Regions from separate parts of the Homo sapiens genome. Here region 2 is linked to region 1. The links are contacts of gene promoters, found by promoter capture Hi-C in human tissues and cell types (Jung and others, 2019). All regions are on one chromosome and are shown on one strand. Each heading gives the region's core, a stretch centred on a gene start or on the middle of the fragment in contact. The rest is flanking DNA. Distances are from core to core; before and after follow the strand shown.

What was found. Contacts are between HindIII fragments. The study calls those that stand out against the background at their distance.
Region 2: a contact is called between a fragment that was not itself captured here and the fragment with the promoter of MAVS in region 1, in 1 of the 25 tissues and cell types used here (dorsolateral prefrontal cortex).

Annotation. Positions count from the first base shown.
Region 1 is chr20:3,844,208-3,851,913 of GRCh38, forward strand. It overlaps MAVS (mitochondrial antiviral signaling protein), which reads left to right and starts at 2,627. Exons shown (of 7, transcript NM_020746.5): 1 at 2,627-2,696. RefSeq lists enhancers at 543-682, 6,637-7,138 and silencers at 2,044-2,093, 2,524-2,903. The HindIII fragment of the contact is 19,994 bases long and covers 1-7,706 here.
Region 2 is chr20:4,186,980-4,194,685 of GRCh38, forward strand. SMOX (spermine oxidase) reads left to right here. Exons shown (of 7, transcript NM_175839.3): 7 at 291-748. The coding sequence ends at 428. LINC01433 (long intergenic non-protein coding RNA 1433) reads left to right here and starts at 6,111. Exons shown (of 3, transcript NR_033917.1): 1 at 6,111-6,267. The HindIII fragment of the contact is 6,243 bases long and covers 714-6,956 here.

The DNA.
Region 1 (7,706 bases), core at 1,377-3,876:
GCCTGGCTGATTTTTGTATTTTTAGTAGAGACAGGGTTTCACCATGTTGTCCAGGCTGGTTTCAAACTCCTGACCTCAGGTGATCCACCCACCTCGGCGTCCCAAAGTGCTGGAATTAGAGGCGTGAGCCACCATGCCCAGCTAGATTATTGTTAACTGATCCAAAAGCCTTATTTGGATTTCACCTGAAGTCCTTTTTCTGTTTCAGGATCCAACCCAGGTTCCCATATTGCATTCAGTTGTCATGTCACTTTGGTGTCCTTTTCTCTGGAGCAGTCTCTCAGTCTCCTTGTTTTTCCTGACCTTGAAATTTTTGAAGAGTTATTCTGCAGAGCAGTGCTATCCAATAGAACTTTCAGTGATGATAGAAATGCTCTGTTTGGGCCTGACGCTGTGGCTCACACCTGTAATCCCAGAACTTTGGGAGGCTGAGGCAGGCAGATCACCTGAGGTCGGGAGTTTGAGACCAACCTGGCCAAGGTGGAGAAACCCCGTGTCTACTAAAAATGCAAAATTAGCTGGGCATGGTGGTGCATGCCTATAATCCCAGCTACTCGGGAGGCTGAGGCAGGAGAATCGCTTGAACCTGGGAGGCAGAGGTTGTGGTGAGCCGAGATCACGCCATTGTACTCCAACCTCAACAACAAGAGTGAAACTCTGTCTCAAAACAAAACAAACAAAAAAAATAGAAATGCTCTGTGTCACCGAGTATGAAGCCATTAGCTACATGAAAATAGCATTTGAAATGTGGCTCATGGGCCAGGTGCAGTGGCTCACGCCTGTAATCCCAGCACTTTGGGAGGCCAAGGTGGGTGGATCACTTGAGGTCAGGAGTTTGAGACCTGCCTGGCCCATATGGTGAAACCTCGTCTCTACTAAAAATACAAAAATTGGCCGGGCGTGGTGACATGCGCCTGTAGTCCCAGCTACTCGTGAGGCTGAGGCAGGAGAATCACTTGAACCCGGGAGGCGGAGGTTGCAGTGAGCCGAGATTGGGCCACTGCACTCCAGCCTGGGTGAAAGAGTGAGATTCTGTTTCAAAAAAAAAAAAAAAAAAAAAAAAGAGAAATGTGGCTCGTGGGTCTCAGGAACTGGCTTCTAAGTATTATTTAATTTTAATTAAAATAGCTACATGTGGCTAGTAGCCATTGTATTGGATAGGACAGCTGTCAAATGTCTCTCGTTTTGGGTTTGCTTACTGTTTCCCTATGATTAGTTTCAGATCATGAGCTTTTGATAGGAATACCATAAGCATGTTGTTGTGTTCTTCTTTGTCTAAATCTTTATAAAAGCTGTTGATAGGTGGCAGGGAACCACCTAGTCAGGCAGTGGGATTGTTTGAATGCTCTTTGAGGTCCAGCAAAGACAGGAGTGATAGCTGCACTTGGAAGCCCGCTCCTACACTTTCAATGTTCTTCCTGAAAGAATTAGATATGAAGCTGCTAGAGCTGCTCCGGTGGGGAGCAGGCAGGATTGATTCTTGAACTAATCAACATTTATGCCCTCTTGGCTAAACTAGGCAGAGCTGGTTTTATTACAGTTCAGGTGTGATTAAGCATACTTTGTAAATGCTGAAGGTTGTGAAATATTCACAGGGATATAAAGTACAGTAATAAAACCTCACTTGAGGCTGGGCGTAGTGGCTCACGCCTGTAATCCCAGCACTTTGGGAGGCCGAGGTGGGAGGATCACCTGAGGTCAGGAGTTTGAGACCAGCCTGGCCAACATGGTGAAACTCCGTCTCTACTAAAAATACAAAAATTAGCCGGGCGCAGTGGCATGTGCCTGTAATCTCAGCTACTTGGGAGGCTGAGGCAGGAGAATTGCTTGAACCCAGGAGGTGGAGGTTGCAGTGAGCCGAGATCGCGCCATTGTACTCCAGCCTGGGCGACAGAGCATGACTCTGTCTCAAAAAAAAAAAAAAAAAAAAAGAATAGAAGACCCTGTGCCTGGAAGATCGTAGGTGCTCAGTAAGTGCTGGCCTCTGCCCCAGAAGGGGAAGGGCGAGGCAGATGGCAGGAACTGCGGGAGGTACCTGTCCCAGGCCCTTGGGCGTAAGAGGCCTCTCCCACGCAGCACCCAACCCATACCCAGCCTGCCCGCCAGCCAACCTTGGCGTCCCTGCCTTGCGCCTACCTACCCAGCAGTCCCCCGCCCGCTCCCACTCCCACAGGCCCAGCGTGCACGTCTCCAGGATAGGCATCCTTGCCCCTGTGACTTCAGCGGCACCCAACGTTTATTGGGCACTAACTGTATGCCAGGCCATGGGGGTGCCGGAGAGAACGACACGAAGACCCTCACCCCTCAAAGTTCCCAGGGGGAGGAGGGGCTGCTTCACTTGGGAAGCGTGGGGATGGAATTCTCAGCCCCCCGATGACTCCGAGGCCGGCCACCTGCCTGGTTTCTGGCCGGACACCGGACTTCCCCTGGAAGTTGCTCGAGACTGCGCGCCCCCAGCAAAAAATCAGGTCGGTTCTCCGAGCCCAGTCTAGCGCTTCCCGACCCGCAAACCAAGGCCCAGTGACCGTCCCCGCTGCGCAGCCGCCTGCGTCGCCAGCCAACCACGCGCGGCCGAGTAGCCCCGCCCCTCCACATGGCCAATGGCCGCGCGCTCTGCCCGCCCCGCCTCCTCGCTGCGGGAAGGGTCCTGGGCCCCGGGCGGCGGTCGCCAGGTCTCAGGGCCGGGGGTACCCGAGGTAAGATCGCTTCCCGGGCGTTGGGTCCTTTCGGCTCAGCACGCACGGACGCCTTTAGGGAAGGTGGCTGCAGCGGCAGGACGGAGTCCGCCGGGACGCCCTGGGTCTGGGGTGCGCGGGGGGCCCAGGAGGGGACAGGACGCGCGGGGATCCGGAAGAGCGGGCCCTGTCGCAAGAGTTTCGGGAACACTGAGGGCTCCAGGCGCCGCATCCAGCATCCGGGGAAAAGGGGGTAGGTGGCGCTGGGCGTCTGCTCAGGCTGGGGGAAAGGTAGGGCCAGAAGGGGACGGGCAGCGGCCGCTGACCTCCTCCTGCCGCCCGCGGGCCCAGGGTGACGCTAAGGTGGGGCCGAGCCTCGACCGGGTGCGCCTAGAGGTCGAGTGCTGCCGCCCTCCGCTGGGTCTGGACAGTTCTCGGCGGCGACACCAGCTCAAAACGGCCTCCCCGCCCTCCGCGGACCTGGGTCGCGCCCAGGAATCCGATCCAAGGCTGTGAGGCCTGTCCCTTTGGGAAGGGTGGGTGTTTATTTCCGGGATGCACTCAGAGCCTCTGGACAGTCAGGTCGGAAACTTTGCTGTATTGGGAACACTCTGTCACCTACTTCCTTCTCAGTTGGGAAGGAAGTGCCAAGAAAACATGAAACAAACCAAAAACACGAAAAAGGGATTCTCTGTATGGAAGCCGTGAAGCCTCAAAAATATCTAGGAGGACAGCCAGCGACCTGGGACCTGTGGCAGCCATGTGAAAGCAGGGTTAATGTCTGGACTAAATGTTGCTTCCACCTAAGTGCACCCTCAGCCTCCCTCCCGCCAAGTGACCTTGGGTCCTCTTTGGGCTTGAAGGCAGGTGGCTGTGTGGGTCTCGCTGCAGGGGTCTCTGTGCCCTGCAAGGTGTATGACCAGTTGCAGTGAGGCAGCAGGTTTTGGGTTCAAATCCTGTGCTAGCCTCTGGCCAGCTGTGCACCTTGGCAACACTTTCCCTGTCACGGGATTGGGGAAGGATTAACTGAAAGAACCTTAGGATGTGCCTGTCTACAATGGGCCCTCCATAAATGTGAACAAATGTGGGCTTCCTTTCCTTTTGTTTGGGCCACATCATCCCTTCCCCTCCATCTGTGGCTGAAGCTGGAATGCAGAAGAGTGCCTCATCTGACTGCCTTCTGGTACCTGGCTGATGCCATGAGAAAGGAAGGAGAAAGGGGTCTTTTTTTTTTTGAAATGGAGTCTCACTCTCTTGCCCAGGCTGGAGCGCAGTGGTCCAATCTTGGCTCACTGCAACCTCTGCCTCCTGGGTCTAGAGATTCTCCTGCCTCAGCCTCCTGAGTAGCTGGGACTACAGGTGTGTGCCACCATGCCTGGCTAATTTTTGCATTTTTAGTAGAGACGGGGTTTCACCATGTTGGCCAGGCTGGTCTCAAACTCCTGACCTCAAGTGATCTGCCTGCCTCGGCCTCCCAAAGTGCTGGGATTCCAGGCGTGAGCCACCGCGCCCGGCCGAGAAAGGGATCTATTAACTCCCATAGAGTTGTTCTTTGCTAATTTCTTGAAGGCTCAGAGGACCCCCGCCTCACCTTCCTGATTCTCCTGACCTGTCATTAGTACTTGCCCCACGAGGAATGTAGCAGGGCCTGCTGGCTGGCAAAGCAACTCATGCATGTGAGGCTCTGAGGCCAGTGACAGGACTGCTTCCCCTGTGAGGAAGGTCTGGTGGCCCAACAGCTTTTAGGTGCTGTCTGCTCTACAGCACTGCCTCCTGAGAGAGGTCTCATGCCTGCCTGATGCCCACTTGGTCCTCTCCTGCCTCCTTCCCTCCCTGACAACCCACTTGGAATCCAATAGCATCTCAAACTTCACTTGTTCCGAACTGAGTTCTGGAGTCCCTTCTGAGCCACTGCTCCTCCCCTGGCTTCTCTGGCCTGGTAAAAGGGCACCTTCCATCCACCCAGTGCCCAAGGAGTCATGCTTCTTTTCTCTCCCTTATCTCCTACACCCTCAAAACACCAGGAATCTGGCTGCCTCCTGCCATCTCTGTGGTTCCCATCCTGACCATAGTCATCCTGTCTCCTGGGCTGTGGCCTCCTTACTGGTCTCCCAGTTTTCATCCTGGCCCCTCCAAAGTCCTCACAACCACCAGAGAAGTCTTTAATGTAAATCAGATCCTCTTCTTTCCCTGCCGGAACCTTCCAGTGGTTCCCTGTTTCACTCCAACTAAAACCCAGAGTCCTTTCCTACAGCACTCTACATGAGTGGCCCCTGCCACCTCCTTGACCTTGACAATCTCTGCCCCTTTCCCTAGCTTGCTTGCTTTTTTTTTTTTTTTTCCTATGATGGAGTTTTGATCTTGTCACCCAGGCTGGAGTGCAATGGGATGATTTCAGCTCACTGCAACCTCTGCCTCCTGGGTTCAAGCGATTCTCCTGCCTCAGCCTCCCGAGTAGCTGGGATTACAGGCGCCCACCACCATGCTAATTTTTGTATTTTTAGTAGAGAAAGGGTTTCACCATGTTGGCGAGGCTGGTCTCAACCTCCTGAGCTCAGGTGATCCACCCGCCTAGGCCTCCCAAAGTGCTGGGATTATAGGCGTGAGTCACGCAGCCAGCCATCCCTAGCTTTCTTGACCTAGACCACACTGACCTGCTTTCTATTCTTCAAACATGCCAAGCTCATTCTTGTTTTAGGACTTTTGCATTTACCATGCTCTCTGCCTAAAACACCAATCTTCTCAGAGCCTGAGAACAGCTCAGCTGTGTTCTGCACGCTAGTTCAGAAAGGCTTCTTTGACCCCCTAGTTCAAGTAGCATGCCTGTCTCCAGGGGCTCTGTCTCATTACCTGCTTTACTTTCTTTAGAGCCTTTATTGCTATCTGGAACTCTTATTTGGGTATTAATTTACTGATCTGTTATTTGTCCCACCCCATTAGAATATAAATTGGATGTGGCATAGACCTTGTCTCTTTTATTCCCTGCAGCACTCCCTGATGGGGGCGGCAGAAAAGTAACGAGCAAATACATCTATAACTGCAAATTGTGGTAACTCCTACATAAACAACTGGCAGCAATTGCTTATATTTGAGGCACTTAAAAATTTTTAAGCTGGCTGGGCGCGGTGGCTCATGCCTGTAATCCCAGCACTTTGGGAGGCCGAGGCGGGCAGATCACGAGGTCAGGAGATCGAGACCATCCTGGCTAACACGGTGAAACCTGTCTCTACTAAAAATACAAAAAATTAGCCGAGCGTGGTAGCAGGCGCCTGTAGTCCCAGCTACTTGGGAGGCTGAGGCAGGAGAATGGTGTGAACCCGGGAGGCGGAGCTTGCAGTGAGCCGAGATTGCACCACTGCACTCCAGCCTGGGTGAAGGAGCGAGACTGTCTCAAAAAAAAAAAAAAAAAAAAAAAAAGAAATTTTTTTAAGCTGCTGGGCGCGGTGGCTCACGCCTGTAAATCTCAGCACTTTGGGAGGCCGAGGTGAGCGGATCACCTGAGGTCGGGAGTTCGAGACCGGAACATGGTGAAACCCTGTCTCTACTAAAAATACAAAATTAGCGGGGCGTGGTGGCTCATGCCTGTAATCCCAGCTACTTGGGAGGCTGAGGCAGGAGAATCGCTTGAACCCAGGAGGCAGAGGTTGCAGTGAGCCGAGATCGCGCCATTGTACTCCAGCCTGGGCAAAAAGAGTGAACTCCATTTCAAAAAAAAAAAAAAAGGCCAGGCGCAGTGGCTCACGCCTGTAATCCCAGCACTTTGGGAGGCCGAGGCAGGCGGATCACGAGTTCAGGAGATTGAGACCATCCTGGCTAACACGGTGAAACCCTATCTCTACTAAAAATACAAAAAATTAGCCGGGTGTGGTGGCGGGCGCCTGTGGTCCCAGCTACTCGGGAGGCTGAGGCAGGAGAATGGTGTGAACCCAGGAGGTGGAGCTTGCAGTGAGCCGAGATTGCACCACAGCACTCCAGCTTTGGTGACAGAGCGAAACTCCGTCTCAAAAAAAAAAAAAAAAAAAATTTAAGCTTAGAGGCCGGCCACAGTGGCTCAGCACTGTGCAGGCCAAGGCAAGAGGATCACTTGAGGTCAAGAGTTCGAGACCAGCCTGGCCAACATGGTGAAACCCTGTCTCTACTAAAAAATACAAAAATTGGCCAGGCGCGTTGGCTGGCGCCTGTAATCCTAGCAACTTGGGAGACCAAGGCAGGCAGATCACCTGGGGTCAGGAGTTCAGGACCGGCCTGGCCAACATTAAAACATATAAAACCCCGTCTCTACTAAAAATATAAAAATTATCCAGGCATGGTGGCGTGTACCCGTAATCCCAGCTACTCGGGAGGCTGAGGTAGGAGAATTGCTTAAACCCGAGAAGCAGAGGTTGCAGTGAACCGAGATTACGCCACTGCACTCCAGCCTGGGCAACAGAGCGAGACTCTTTCTCAAAAACAACAACAACAACAAACAAACAAATTAGCCAGGCATGATGGTGGGCACGTGTAATCCCAGCTACTCGGGAGGCTGAGGCAGGAGAATTGCTTGAATGTGGGAGATGGAGGCTGCAGTGAGCCGAGATCACACCACTGCACTCCAGCCTGGGCGACAGGGAGACTCTGTCTCAAAAAAAAAAAAAAAAAAAAAAGTTTATAAGGCTGAATTACCGTACTGTCAAAACAAGCTGCTATCTGAGCCGTTTTAAGGGTGAGGAAGTCTGGAAACTGATAACTTGCCCAGGACACACAGTGAGTTCAAGGCATGGAACTCAGTCTCCTATCTTAAGAATGTATGTGGGCCGGGCATGGTGGCTCACGCCTGTAATCCCAGCGCTTTGGGAGGCCAAGGCAGGCAGATCATCTGAGGTCAGGAGTTCAAGACCAGCCTGACCAACATGGAGAAACCCTGTCTCTACTAAAAATACAAAATTAACCAGGTGTGGTGGTGCATGTCTGTAATTCCAGCTACTCAGGAGGCTGAGGCAGAAGAATCACTTGAACCCGGAAGGCAGAGGTTGCGATGAGCCGAGATTGTGC
Region 2 (7,706 bases), core at 2,585-5,084, 340 kb after region 1:
GGAGGTTAAACCACCTGCCTCAAGTTGACAAGTAAGAGGCACAAAGAGCCTTTGAGACCACAGAGCCGGGACTCCTAATGGCCTCAAGACAGAAAGAGCCAAGGGAAGAAGCAGGGGAAAGTGGCCAGATAGGATGGGCAGCTCTTCATCCTGTGGAAGCAGCAGCACCTGCGTCTCAGAGCCTCTCTAATTTGTCATTGGGATGGGAGGTTCTGGTGGAGAGGGGTGGCCTTGTGGCCTTCTGGCCTTTGCTGCTCCTCCACCCTGACCTCCCCATCCCCGCCCCGCAGCCCATGCAGGTGCTGTTTTCCGGTGAGGCCACCCACCGCAAGTACTATTCCACCACCCACGGTGCTCTGCTGTCCGGCCAGCGTGAGGCTGCCCGCCTCATTGAGATGTACCGAGACCTCTTCCAGCAGGGGACCTGAGGGCTGTCCTCGCTGCTGAGAAGAGCCACTAACTCGTGACCTCCAGCCTGCCCCTTGCTGCCGTGTGCTCCTGCCTTCCTGATCCTCTGTAGAAAGGATTTTTATCTTCTGTAGAGCTAGCCGCCCTGACTGCCTTCAGACCTGGCCCTGTAGCTTTTCTTTTTCTCCAGGCTGGGCCGTGAGCAGGTGGGCCGTTGAGTTACCTCTGTGCTGGATCCCGTGCCCCCACTTGCCTACCCTCTGTCCTGCCTTGTTATTGTAAGTGCCTTCAATACTTTGCATTTTGGGATAATAAAAAAGGCTCCCTCCCCTGCCCCTCAGCTTCTCTCTGGTTTTCTCAGCCTCTGTGTATGTGTGTGTGTTTATTTCTGTCACACCGCCTTTGAGTGAGAGGGAGAAGGTTGGGGAGCCCTGGCCTGGCTGTGTCCCCAGAGGGAAGGTGCTGCTTTTACTGGAAGGGATGTCCCCTCCCCCCATCTGTTGGGGTGTTTACCTTCCTGCCAGTAAGGCCCCTCAGGAATACGGGCCTCTCAGTGTACACCTGCTCCTTCAGGTCTGGCCTGAGTCTGCTTGCTGGCCCTTTTTTTTGCTGGACTTCTCTGAGTTTAACTGAGTGACACACTGCCTGGAGTGAAGGAGTTCTGTGGGGGGGACCCCCAGTGGTGGTGGCTCCATGCCAAGCCTAGGTATGTTCATTGTTTTTTTTTTTTTTTTTTTTTTTTTTTGAGACGGAGTCTCGCTCTGTCGCCCAGGCTGGAGTGCAATGGCGCAATCTCGGCTCACTGCAACCTCTGCCTCCTGGGTTCAAGCAGTTCTCTGCCTCAGCCTCCTGAGTAGCTGGGATTACAGGCGCCCGCCACCACGCCTGGATAATTTTTGTATTTTTAGTATTTTTGTAGTTTCACCATCTTGGCCAGGCTGGTCTTGAACTCCTGACCTCAGGTGATCTACCCGCCTTGGCCTCCCAAAGTGCTGGGATTACAGGGGTGAGCCACCGCACCTGGCTTGTTCATTGTTAATTAGCGTCACCTGTCCACTGGGCTGTGGGTCTGGCCCCTGGGGTGGCCTTCTTTTGAACCTCTGGGCAGATGGTCATTCTGGGCTTTATTTTTTGACAGGGGGAATATCCTAAGGCCTGCCATTTATTGGGGAATAGATTTTTCTTCTCGTCAGCTGGGTTCAGTGCTCCCAACACTTTGGGAGGCTAAGGTGGCAGGATCACTTGAGCCCAGGAGTCTGAGGCTGCAGTGAGCCATGATTGCACCACTGCACTCCAGCTTGGGTGACAGAGTGAGACCCTGTCTCAGAAAAATAAAAGAAGGTGTTATTTGTAATCCTTTACATGTAAGCTGTCAAGCTTCTCAGTATTAAGGAATAATTCACACACCAAATATAAAGCAATCAATACTTTCCTTTACATACTAGGCATCTAGAAAAGGGTCCTAGGCTGGACATGGTGGCTTATGCCTGTAATCCCACCAATTTGGGAGGCTGAGGCAGGAGGATTGCTTGAGCCTGGGAACTTGAAACCAGCCTGGGCAACACAGTGAGACCCCATCTCTACAGATGTCTTTTAAAAAAGAAAAACTTCTTTTTCTTCTCTTTTTGCTGAGTAAAAAGACACATCTACCCCCTTATATATACTCACCCACATATATAGGTACACATACCTACATATACTCACCACTACACCTTACACATAACCCACATGACATATACAGGTACACACACCTACATACACTCACCTCTCTACCCTACACATATACCTACCTACATACACACACACACAGAACCTTAAAGAACAGTCATTTTGTTACTCCACATTTCTAGTGATGAAATTTGAATTCAGATCCACATGGCTCTGTCCATGTGGTTTAAGCCCAAAAGCTATATAAGAATACACTAAAATGTCCCCATTCACACTGTCCCCAGTCATCTTAAAGAACAGTTAGTCATTTTGTTATCCTAGATTTCTAGTGATGAAATTTGAATTCTACAGAGTTGAAGGGTGGGGTGATGGGGAGAAGTTATGAAGAGCTTAGGTCAGGTCCCCTTCATGGACATTTAGGGCCCTGCCCTTGACAGGACATGACAGCCCCTTCCTCCTCCCAGGTGATTGATTGATTGATTGAAATAGCATCTCACTCTGTTGCCCAGGCTGGAGACAGCGGTGCGATCATGGCTCACTGCAGCCTCAGACTCCTGGGCTTAAATGATCCTCCTTACTCAGGAGTGGCTGGGACTACAGGCATGTGCCACCATGCCTGGCTAATTTTTATTTTTATTTTTTTGTAGAGAGAGTGTCTCATTATATTGCCCAGGCTGGTAGGTTGTGATGGAGATGTCTAACACACAGACACACGTACACACATGCTTACCTGCATCCACTTACGCACACACACCTACATGCACAAACCTCACAGACATTTTGCTTTGCCAGGGTTGATCTGCCAGAAATCTTCATGGAGCTTATATCAAGGGATTCATACCCACCTGCTGGCATAACTGAAAAATGTCTAAATATATATATGAATTTTTTTTTTTTTTGAGACGGAGTTTCACTCAGTTGCTTAGGCTGGAGTGCAGTGGCATGATCCCGGCTCACTGCAACCTCCACCTCCCAGGCTCAAGCGATTCTCCTGCCTCAGCTTCCCGAGTAGCTGGGATTAAGGCACGAACCACCATGCCCAGCTAATTTTTCTATTTTAAATAGAGTTGGGGTTTTGCTATATTGGCCAGACTGGTCTCAAACTCCTGACCTCAGGTGATCCACCCGCCTCGGACTCCCAAGGTGTTGGGATTACAGGCGTAGCCACTATGCCCAGCCTATATATGAAAAATTGTCTGAATAGATGATCTGTTCATGTAGTTTAAGCCCAAAAGCTGTCCACGTGGATACAATACACTGAAATGTTCCCTCTCACAGTGTCCCCAGTCACTGTTGCCTCTCCCACAGCCCTAGGGGTATCCATTCCTAGATGTAAGTCAATATAAAAACACTCTTCTCCCTCCTTTTTATACAAAAGCACCAAAGTATTCATCTTGTCCTGATTTTGCTTGTTTTAGTTAACAATATGTCCTGTAGGCTGGGCGCGGTGGCTCACACCTGTAGTCCCAGCACCTTGAGAGGCCAAGGCGGGTGGATCACCTGAGGTCAGGAGTTCAAGACAAGCCTGGCCAACATGGTGAAACCCTGTCTCTACTAAAAGTACAAAAAATAAGCCGGGTGTGGTGATGCATACCTGTAATCCCAGCTACTCGGGAGGCTGAGGCAGGAGAATTGCTTGAACCCAGGAGGTGGAGGTTGCAGCGAGCCGAGATCGCGCCATTGAACTCCAGCCTGGGCAACAAGAGTGAAACTCTGTCTCAAAAACAAACAGAAAAACAAATAAAAAATCAAAAAAACCCACAATATGTCTTGGACATCTTTCTGTAATGGTACATAAGCAGACAATGTAAATTTGGACCTTACTTTGGTCAAAGCATGTCTGTCTCCTCCCTGGCCCAGGGTCACTTTATGGAAGCCACCTTCTATTACCTGTTACCTTCCATGACTCATAGTCTGCTGTCTGCTTCTGACTCCTCAGTTGTTGGATTTCCCCATCCACTGCAGTGGGATGGAGACAAGCAGCCCCATCACATAAGTATCGGGGAAGAAAGTGATAAATAGGTTCTCAGTGTATAGGCAGAGGAATTTTAAAGGACTCCATGGTGGGGTGAAAGGTCTGGAAATGTTTACTTGGTGACTGCACTTCAGGGAGCTTCATGGGTGGGTAAGAGGGAGGGAGAGAATATTCACTTAGTGCCAATTGCCTGGCACTATGCCATGTGAATGTGATACTGATTTGACAGTGATGCCAACTCAGGCTTTATTTATTCCTGTGGGCAAGTGAAACCTCAGAGAAGTTAAGTAACTTGCCCAGGGTTGCTCAGAGGTGCCGAGACATGAGCTGAAGTCTGTCTGACTGCGTGGTGTAGGCTCGTTCTATTGTATGATGAAAAGAAGAGGCTGGTGCCACCAAAAAAGCTTAAGGCCATTGCTGGAGAGAGTGGGTGTGGTACGACCACACTGGGGGACTGTGGCGGAGTCAGCTAAAACTGGCCATGTGCTTGCCAGCGTTCCCACCCCTGGGTATACACCCAAGAGAAAGGCGTGCAGGTGCTCACCAAACATATATACCAATGTGTCCACAGTAACATGGACCCTAACAGCTAAAAAACTGGAAGCTGCCCAGATGTCCATCAACAGTAGAATGAATTCCAGTGCACTCACACAATGGAATACTATATAGCAATAAATAAAAGGAATGGATATTTGCAACAACATGGATTAACCTCAAAAATGTTATGTTGGCAGGGTATGATGGCTCATGTACCCCCAGCACTTTGAGAGGCCAAGGCAGGTGGATTGCTTGAGCTCAGGAGTTCAAGACCAGCCTGGGCAACAAGGCGAAACCCCGTCTCCACAAAAAATACAGAAATTAGCTGGGCATGGTGGTGCGTGCCTATAGTCTCAGCTACTGGGGAGGCTGAGGTGGGAGAAATGCTTGAACCCAGAAGGTTGAGTCCGCAGTGAGCTGTGATCATGCCACTGCACTCCAGCCTGAGCAACAGAGCAAGATTCCATCTCAAAACAGCAACAGCAACAACAACAACACAACAAAAACCCTCAAAACATTATGTTGAGTTAAAGAAGCCGGACAAAAGGCTATGTACTATATGATTTCTTTTATGTAACGTTCAAGAACTTGCAAAACTAATCTACTGTGTTGGAAATGAGGGGCTGGGGGTGGCGGCTGGGCAGGAGTGGGATGGGGGCACTTCCTGGGGTAACGGAAGTGTTCCACATCTTGATCTGGGTGGCGGTTGCATGGGCATACACGTTGGTAAAAATGCATCAAGTTATACATGGAAGAAAGTTTCAAGAGTCTGAGAATGCCTCCCTCCATTCTCCCATTCCAAAACATGGTCATATTGGCCCAGCTAATTTCCTCCTTGCAGCAGAGATGACACATCTGAGAGCAGATAAAGGGAGGAGGGGCCCTCTTAGGCCCCACTGGCTGCCTGGTGATAAGCAGTGACCTCAAATTAATATAGGATGTCACTGTTTACCAGCTCCATTGCCTGTATCCCCTTATCCTCTCTGCATCTGCAACCACGAAAGAGGGGTTGGGATTGTTCCACAGCAGAGGAAATGGAGGTTCTCGGAAGGACCTCGGGGAGGCCATGCAAGGCTACTCGGCTTGGAGAGGACATGACCTCGTGGGGAAGGGAGCAACCCGGGGAGGAAGCCGAGGGGGAGCCTTTGGACACACAGGCAGGGACAGGCGCCAGAGGGGGCACCTCCTGCAGTGTGCTGCCTCCACATCAATAATTGCATAATGTGGATACCATTTATGATTGACAGTTCCAAAAACCAAACTCACTCACTACAGATGAGCAAGGAAGAGCAAGAGCCATTCAGAAGTGAGGAGGTATGACGTACAAGGAACACAGGATATGTTTCATGCTGTGATGAAGTTTCACAATAGACTTGGCATAGATTGAAACCCAAAGGGCTCTATCAGAAGTGGCAAATGTGGCACGCTCAGGCCAACACCCATGCCAATGATTCCTATAAAATTCCCATTGCCTGGTAGAAGTTCACAGGAGAGGAAAGTTCTTTCCTGCACCAGGTTCTATGGAGAATTGGTTGCATGGTTTCTCGTGCTGTGGGCATCAGGGACTTCAGGTGAAGGTATTTAGCTGTGGCTTTGTGCAAACCTCAGAACTGTGTCCTCCAAGGGCCTGGGGTATTTGGCAGGCGCTGTCTCTTGCTGCCTTTGCTGCTGTATGACAGGTGAGTAATATGTTATATCCTATTTCTTGGGAGCTGCCTGGAGTGTCTGCCCCTCCTGCAAACAAATGTAGGAGTGAAGCACCTCTAGTTTGAGTCACCTTAACTTACTAGGTCCTGTTGGGGGTGAGCTCAAGGGTAACTCCAAGGTGCAGAGTGAGTTAGGCTGCTGGTTCAGTTCTTGAGAATTGCCTGTCTAATTAGTGGTCTGCCAAACTTAATGGTAGAGTTACAGAAGGCTGTATTCTTTATAATGACTGGCTGGGCTGTTTGTTGAGACTCCTTATTTGTGTAGGACAATCAAGCCATCAACACGCAGGCAGAGTTGTTGCTCTACTAAGGTGGCAGCCAGGACATCTAATCTTGTGTTATGTATTTAATATTAAAAAAGGGGGTCGTTCACTGCCCTGTTTCATACTGTTCAGCTTGAGACTGGTAGGTACAAAAGTCTTCTCACTTCCCATGATTCTAGCGGTGATTGTTTAACACCGATTTTGCCAGAACGTTCAAAGCCTGGATCTCTCTCAGAGAATGCAAAGTGTTAGGCACATTTTATTTCTGCAAACTCTGTGTTTGTGCAATTTCAATGCGTTGGATTGGGTATTCCCTCTCCATTTCACTGTAGTCCCAGCTACTCCCTTTTGTCTTAGATCTGCTACCATCCCACTCCCATACATGGGGCACATGGGGTTACACAGCTGTCTTTCATCCCCAGTTCAAGGTCATGTGGCCACTTTATTATGCCTTGAAGCTCTTTCTTCTCTTCTATGAGCTACTTGGGTGTGCTTTCTGTTACTTGAGCCATTGGTTCCTCCTCTTTTGCTCAAATTAGTTTGGGTTAGGCTTCTGTCACTTCTGATCAGTTCAAACTAATTAAAATTGGTTCCAGGACTGGAGTTTTACATTTGGTCTGTCATTTCACTGGGTCTCTTTCTAATACCCTCAACTCTCTTACCCCCTGTTTTGTTAAAGCCAATTGACACAATTCCAATCAGCATTCAGTCTACAGCTACGGCTGGGCCACCATCAGTTGCTGCTGGAAAAAAACAGAGCCACACCTGCTGGCCGAAGCAAAGCAAATAACAACACTGCCTGCAGAATCTTTCCAGGGACTTAACATATTTAAAGCAGAAATTCTGCTTCTTCCTAAATCTAATCTACCCTTGGTCTTCCACATTTGAGTAAGTGGTACCACCATTTGGCCCAGGGCAAACACCTGGGCCATCATCAACTCCTTTTTCTTTCATATTCCACATCTGATCATCAGATTTGCAATCAGCAAATCTTGTTGGCTCTCCCTACAAAACACATCCTGAGTCTGATGACTTTGAGCCTCCTTCACCGCTCCTCACATCTCTGCTGTGTATGGCTGCAACAGCCTCCTAAGTGGGGTTCCTTTTTCCACGACTGTCCCTTTTAGCCTGTCCTCTACACAGCAGCAG